Linked DNA regions of Homo sapiens: region 1 is linked to region 2. Evidence: promoter capture Hi-C in human tissues and cell types (Jung and others, 2019). All regions are on one chromosome and are shown on one strand. The core of a region is centred on a gene start or on the middle of the fragment in contact, and the rest is flanking DNA. Distances in the headings are between cores, read along the strand shown. Region 1 overlaps SSX2IP (SSX family member 2 interacting protein). Region 2 holds the start of MCOLN3 (mucolipin TRP cation channel 3).

The links. Contacts are between HindIII fragments. The study calls those that stand out against the background at their distance.
Region 1: a contact is called between a fragment that was not itself captured here and the fragment with the promoter of MCOLN3 in region 2, in 1 of the 25 tissues and cell types used here (H1 embryonic stem cells).

Annotation. Positions count from the first base shown.
Region 1 is chr1:84,648,000-84,651,833 of GRCh38, forward strand. SSX2IP (SSX family member 2 interacting protein) reads right to left here. Exons shown (of 14, transcript NM_001166293.2): 13 at 2,363-2,528. Among named protein-coding and RNA genes, the nearest start is that of LINC01555, 15 kb to the left of the region's middle. The HindIII fragment of the contact is 3,856 bases long and covers 14-3,834 here.
Region 2 is chr1:85,046,503-85,050,520 of GRCh38, forward strand. MCOLN3 (mucolipin TRP cation channel 3) reads right to left here and starts at 1,998. Exons shown (of 13, transcript NM_018298.11): 1 at 1,894-1,998. RefSeq lists silencers at 1,480-2,229, 2,260-2,399. The HindIII fragment of the contact is 9,392 bases long and covers 1-4,018 here.

The sequences.
Region 1 (3,834 bases), core at 692-3,191, 400 kb before region 2:
TCCCTGTACAAATGATCAAACTAAGTTTTTTAGGTAACTTACGCACAAGTCTCCTTGCCTGGAATCTAAGGCACAGCCTTTATATAAAATTCCATTCTACAGTGAAGGAACAATGAGGATGTTGTAGAAATTAGCTACAAATACTCCTAATTATTTTGTTGCAATATTAATATAAACCGAGATCCAAAATGCTTCAGGAGCAAGAGAACCAAGTTTATCAAATAATTTAAAATGTGAAGAACCAAGTCAGGCTGCACAGCTTCTCTATTAGTTATAAAACTTTTTTCTGTTTGTTTTATTCTTAGAGGCTAGTTAACAATGAATACCTTGAATTTCTTTAAGCTCCAAAATTGTTTCTATGCCACGGATGTTGTTTAGTGGAGCACTCAGAAACAAAAAAAGCATGTTTATATTTGTTTACATATATTTTTATTTTTATAGTCTGTCACTAAATGTTTTTAAGTGCTTTACATACATTAACATTTAACTTGCAACACCCTATGATTTAGGTACTAAATGCTGAACTTTATTAAACATAAAACAATGTCTTCAAGAAATGTTTATGTCAAATATTTCACAACTAAAAATGATGTAAAAAGCTAAATATTTAAAATATATAAAAACAATTGAGACAACTATGTTATGCTATCTCTTAGATATAAAATGCATTATTTGTGAATGGTGGCTAGAATTTGTGTCTATATCTATACAGATAGTTCTGACTGGTCAAATTTAGAAGTTTGAATAACATTCTATGTAAGAAAATACTATAAGCTTACACATTATCTTTTGATTGTAAAATAAATAAACTTTCACTTCCCATATTCAACTCATCTACTGGTCTAACTTCAAAATAGATCCCAAATCCAAGCATTTCTTCCTTCATATTATGACCCTAGTCCAATTACCATTGTCTTTCGTTTCCACTCCAATAGTGCCTCCTAACTGGATTTCCTGGTTTATATTACAGACTCCTACAATCTGTTTTCAATATTATAAAACAGTAATCTTTTTAAAACTTAAGACTTTTTTTCACTCTCTTGCTTAAAACTAGTGTTTTTTCTATTCCCCTTAGAACAATATTTGACCTGCAAATGCACACTAAAATATTCTGTAAATGAAATCCCAGATGTGTTGGGGCTGGGGTGGAGAGAGCAAGCAGAGTGGGATTATATATGAACAATATTGATCAGAGTTAATAATTGCTGAACCTGAGTCATAGGTACACGTGGGTTCACGATCTTATCCTCTCTGTATATTTGAACTTTTACATCTCTCCATCCTCATCTCACACCTCTAGGTCTTGGTCACCATTGCAAATGTATGAGGTGTGTCCCACCCTCAGGGTTCCTACACTTGGCTAGAGTGCTCTTACCTAGCTCTTTTTCATCCCCTCTAACATTTACTTGGAGTCCTAATCCCCCCACCTCTTAAAAGTCAACTACAACTTATAGTGTGTTCTCCTCCTTCTTTTAAAAGCTTCCTTTCTTGTTTTAAACTCCATCTATTTCATAATTCTTGGCCCAAGGGCCAGCTGGCTTCTTCGACACTTAGTTCCACTCCAGTCTCTAACACAGGCCGAGTTTGCTTCAGCTCTGACTGTTTTCCAAGGCCATTATCTCCTACTTTTAATTAAGAGCAAAGAGATTACCACCATACTTTCCAACTTACCCCTCTGATCTTTTCTATTCCTCTCTGTCTTACTAGGAATGTTCTACCTGCTTCCTCTTCTTCGTTTAAAACTAATCTTGGAATTGGCACTGAAGCAGAGTATTGATCTTATCTTAGAAAATGATATAATAACTTGAGATACAGGAAAACACCAAAATGTAGCAATTAAGAGCAACATATGGGTTTCCCAGGGTGGAGAGCCATGTTTTTTTACACTGTCATCCTTGGGCACAAATCTTTTTCACTCAACAGGAACAGGCTTTTCTCAGTTCTTTGCCCTTCAACAACAATAAAATGGGCATGCCGGAAAAAAGTGTTAAGATATGTACTCTACAAAAACTGTCAAAACAATATCCTTCCATTTAATACAATTAAAGTGCTTAAAATATTAACTCCTATAATTAAGACTACATTCTAAATTGTATCTTAAATGTGAAATAAAAAGACACACATCATATGATTTACCTCCAAGAAGACAACAGATCTACCTGTTCACTAGTGTATTTCCAGCATCTAGCACAGTGTCTATATATACTGGACACTCAATATTTGTAGAATGAATAAATCATCTACTAAATTCCTCTCCAAAATCTCTATTGTTGCTAATACTACAGACATGCCACCTTTCCCTTAGCAGTGCAACTTTAGCAATTTTTAGAAACACGTGAAAAGATCACCTATAGACAAATACCTATGTTCAGATATGCAGGAACGTGTCTGGCAAAAGTCTGAAGTGGAAGGTGAAGCAGGAAGAGATTTAGTAAGTTTAGACATGCAAACTGGAGACCCATTAGACACACTGTGAGGCTTCTTTTGCGGCTGCCTCGAGTGCACTATAAGATTGTCCCAATCAGAACCTGTTGTAAAACAAGTAAGAGAAAAAGGCAGTACATATGGTGAGGCATTAAATATAGTGAAGGTAAATCATCAGGATGATTCATCTGCGGTTCTGAGTGAGGAAAGAGATGGAACAAATTCAAATTAATTATCATTAATCTTGCTTATCTTTGTTGCATAGTCCACCCATGTTTAAAAGGATCTTTTTTTTTTTTGAGATGGAGTCTTGCTCTGTCACCCAGGCTGGAGTGCAGTGATGCGATCTTGCCTCACTGCAAGCTCCACCTCCTGGGTTCACGCCATTCTCCTTCCTCAGCCTCCCGAGTAGCTGGGACTACAGGGGCCCGCCACCATGCCTGGCTAATTTTTTTGTATTTTTAGTACAGACGGGGTTTCACTGTGTTAGCCAGGATGGTCTCGATCTCCTGACTTCGTGATCCACCTGCCTCGGCCTCCCAAAGTGCTGGGATTACAGGCGTGAGCCACCGTGCCCAGCCAAAAGGATCTAGTTTTAAAAATATTTCTAGGCTGGGTGGGGTGGCTCACACCTGTAATCCTAGCACTTTGGGAAGGTGAGGCGGAATGACTGCTTAAGCCAGGAGTTTGAGACCAGCCTGGGTAGTATAGCGAGGGCTTGTCTCTACAAAAAAGTTTTTAAAATTATCTGGGTATGGTGGTGTGTGCCTATAGTCTCAGCTACTCAGGAGGCTGAGGCAAGGAGGATTGCCTGAGCCCAGGACGCTGAGGCTGCAGAGAGCCGAGATGCACTCCAGCCTGGGTGACAGAGCAAGACTACATCTTGAAAAAAGAAATTCTCAATGTAAATTTTCAAAAACTTCGCATTATTACAAACTCACAACAAAAGTTACTTTGGGCATGCACAGTCCCCCTCTCATCCTCACTTTCACTACAGTAAATAAAATATTAAAGTTGATTTTTAGGCCAGGCGCAGTGGCTCATGCCTAATCCCAGCACTTTGGGAGGCTGAGATGGGTGGATCACCTGAGGTCAGGAGTTCAAGAACAGCCTGGCCAATATGGTAAAAACCCGTCTCTACTAAAAATACAAAAATTAGCCAGGCGTGGTGGCACATGCCTGTAATCCCAGCTACTCAGGAGGCTGAGACAAGATAATCGCGTGAAGCTGGGAGGCAGAGGTTGCAGTCAGCCAAGGTCACGTCACTGCACTCCAACCTGGGCGACAGAGCAAGACTCCGTCTCAAAAACAAACAAAAAAAAGTTGACTTTTAGTTATAATTAGAGAGCTCTAATTGGTGATTTCCAAAGTTTTGTATTAATAATATGTAGTATTTTGTAATATGTAAAT
Region 2 (4,018 bases), core at 748-3,247:
CCATACGGAATAGAAAGGCAGGCTTTATTTGACATTTTAATAATAACTTGTACTCAGCAATGAAGAAGGAAAATTGTAACCTGCATTCATACAATATCTTACAAGTCACTGGTTAGATACCATGCTGCTTTCCAAGTCTAGAACCCCACTTTTGATTCCAATTCAAGCATTCTTAGGAAGCCCAACATCTCCGAACAATAGATACTGGCTATAAAGAATAGCATGGGGAAGGTTCTTAAACTCTTGTTAATGAAAAGATTAATAAGGATACTGCTGGATGAATAAACCATAAAACATATTTACTGTATGGCAAATGCAGTACCTTCAAAATGAAATAATTATTATATAACTCATTAAAGTGTGGCTCCTGTGTGCGTGTTAAAATGCCTGTCAAAGCATAAATGCAGTAATTCTTAGGTAAAGGCATAAAGGAAAGAAAAAGTTATTAATAAATTAGGATTTTCACTTAACAGTTTTACTTCCTTCAAAAAGGCAGGATATTTTAACCAGCATTTAAGGAGACTTTATCTATAGGACTTAAAACGCAGATGATTTCATGTTGACCAAAGCTCGCATATGAACACCAACATAATGATGAAGCTGTTAATAAGCATGTTGGTGAGTTGTATATTGACACTAAGCGCTTTCCACTTTGATACAGGGAAAATTAAATTTTAAACAAACTAGCCACACACCATGTACAGTAATCCACAGGAACAAAGAGAAAACAAGCCAACCAGCATATATTCAGCACATCACAACGAGTTGTCCCGGTAGACATTTCATTCACCAGGACCAGATGCTGACCTTGGAAAAGTCAGGTTTACCCAGTCTGAAAAGCCCTTCCGAGGGTGCACTTTTAAAAACTGCAAACTGTCGGGAACCCCAGCAGCTGAAGGAGGTATTCGCAGCCAGCCACCCTTGACATTCACCCGGAGCGCCGGCGCGGGAGGCAGGGTGGGCGAAGGACCCCATCAGGAGAGGCTACCCGACGAAGGGGCCATCCGGAGAGGCTACCGAAGTATCTATCAGGCATGCTCTTAGAAGGAGCAAACGGACACACACAGGTTACCTGTTCCTGGCGGGCAGAGGCTTGATTGGAGTAAGCTGTAGAAAATTGGAGAAAGCCCGGGAGTGTATAAATAGCAAAGGCCTCCCAGTTGGCGACAAAGTTATGCAACCTCGTTTTTTCAGAAGCGCTTTCCCACTTCACCAGACACAAAACTTTAGTCTCTCCAGTCTTCTTTTTTTTTCAAACAAACAAACAACAAGGGTTGACACTTTTGTTGGGTAGTGTGTGCGAGAAAGATCTGCAGGGTTGCAGCGATGTCCCAGAGCGGTCGCTGCCATCCCCGGGCACTGCCGTGGAGCTCAGACGGCCGCAGCCCGGCTGGCGGCTGCTTTCAGCCAGCGCAGCGACCCGGGCCTGAGCCCCCACTTCCAGCCGCCCCCACCTCTAACAGGGGGACAGTCCGCCTTGAAAGGGGCCAGCCGAGCCGCGTCAAGGCCATCTGGAGCCCCGGCCGGCATCCAAGCCTTCCAGCCCAGGGGCTCCGGGCGGGGGTGGCTTCCAGCCCTCTGAGCCCTGGCCACAGGTGGGCGGCGGCCTGGAGGGGGACCGAGGAGCAGAGCACCCCCACCCGCCCAGCCCCGGGCAGGCCCGGCAGGCGCGCTCCTCCACTGACCTGCGGGCGGCTTGGGGGCGGCGCGGAACAGCTGCATCTCGCGCCCAGCTCCAGCCCGCCTGCCCTCCATGGCGCCGACTGCCCGGCCCGGCCTTCCCGCGGCGTCCCCGACAGCTCGCTGCCTCCCGGCCTCCCCGGCCCTCCCTGTGCGCCGCGGGCGCCGTTCCCGCGACACCCGACGCCCCGGGGCAGCGCCCCGCGGGCTCACCTGGGGGACAGCGGGGAGCGGCCGCAGCTCCGGTGTCCGCGGCGAGGGCGCAGGGCGAGTCAGCGAGCGACTCCAGCAGCCTCGAGCCCCGCTCCGCCCAGAGTCAGACGGGAGGAGAGCGCCCCGTCCGCCGCCCGCGCATCCTCCCGCCCCCGCCGCTTTAACTCGTGACCCTACTCCCGGCTCGGGTTCCCGCCGCGCCCTGTCGGGGGCCGCTTTTCAGGAGCACAGGTGGGACGCAGGAGGCCGTCCGGAGGAAGCCGGCGTTGTGCCCGTTCCCTGCCACCCCCACCCTATCACTCCCTTCATTTTCTCCCTGAGCAACCCGCACCGCCCTGCTCGGGTTTGCCAGGTTTGCTCCGGAGCTGCCGCCGGCGCCGGGGGGCCACCCCCTCCTGGCCAAGGCCCCTCAGGTGGTTGCCGGGCTCCGCGGGTGCGGGATCTATAGCGCCTAGCTCCGGTGAGTGTGAGGCCCCGCTGCAGCCTCCCATTCTGATTTTTGCATACAAGGTGAAATCTTGAATGTCTTAGCGTTTCAAGCCTGAACCTTGTTCCCTCCCTGGGTCTTCTAGTTTCAGACAAGTGCTGTGAAATGAGTGGACAGTCGACTAGACTCTTCTGTAGATTGGCGGCTGGGGCAGAAAGAGCCCTGGGAAACTTTTCCAAGAAATGTAAATAGAAATACCTGAAGTAGACTTTGAACCGTAATCTTTTTCTTCATAAATTATCTGTAAATATTAAACCTAATACCCCTTATCAGGATTGGATCAGGAACTTTGGTTAATTTTAATTATAATTACTTTGGATGTGTTCTGATTTTTAATTTTTACTTATTTTTTTTTTTTGGCCACGGGTAAATTTGTAAAGGTCACTGAATTTCCCTACTAGGGTATTCCTGAAATTAGATCGATACCTAGCAAACCTTTTATAAAACCTGTTTTCAAATCCTAAACCAGTATGCATGGATTACTAATAAATTTTTGCAACAGGGTACAAGAATTTTATGCTGTTCCTCAACCTGGATCCCACATACTGTGAACAAGGTAGATACCCAGAAAGGATATAATTGGCACAGTCAATTCTCAAGTGCAATTTGGAAAATATAATGTAATCTTTAATCCCCATATGCCTACACACGATGTAACGCTATCTCCTTACTTGATGGTAAGAGTTTGAAATGCTTGATTGTTCAGGAACAATCTGAACTTTGAAGAGGTTCACAGTCATAAATGATGGCACTTGCTTAACCCTCGTTTTAGCTGAGTTATAAGGACCGGTGAATAGATAAAGCCAGGTTTTGGAGTCAGACAGATGAGGGCCCAAATTCCCTTCTGTGCCACTTATTGGTCTCTAGGGAGTTACTTACCTTCTCTGAACCCCTTTTCTTTTTTATGTGCAATCTGTGAAGTTAGCCGAGAGAAAGGACGAGAGAGAGAGAGAGAGAGGGAGAGAGAGACCGAGAGAGACCGAGACCCAAGTTCAGGCAAGCCTTTATTCAACCTGCCGGCTGCTCCATTACAGACAGAGGAGGCAGCCCTGAGCTTACAAAATGAGGGTTTTATGTGGGGGAGAGAGACCCTGGAGTTGTTTGTTGGTTAACTCTGCCACATATCACCTTGTGACGTTTATGGTACCGGAGGGTGTAGGTAAAGTTTGTTTATACTTCCCACGACCTCCCACTGTGCAGTCCGGATGGTTTGTAATTGGGTTTGCTTTATAGCAGCAAGACCTGATAGGTAAAAGTCTCCTGGCTTCACCGCGGTGCCTAGATAGGGGCTTAGAAATGTAAAAAGGTTTGGGGGAAGAGGAGGGGTGGTACGGAGAGGTTTGCGGGGGTGGGGGGCGGGGGTGTTGGCAGTACCAAGAAGCTTTTTTGGGGTAGCTTGTCCCTAACACAATCTAGCTAATAAAAGGAATGGTGATTTTTAATTAATATGATACATGTAAAGCACCCATTACTATATGAGGCATATGTGATGTGCTTATAAATGCTGATTCCCCCTTTTATTTGGAAAACTTAATGAAAATATCAACCATGTTCATAAATTACAAGACTCAGTATTATTAAGATGTCAGTTTTCACCAAGTTCATTTATAGATTCAACCCAATCTCAATGAAAATTCT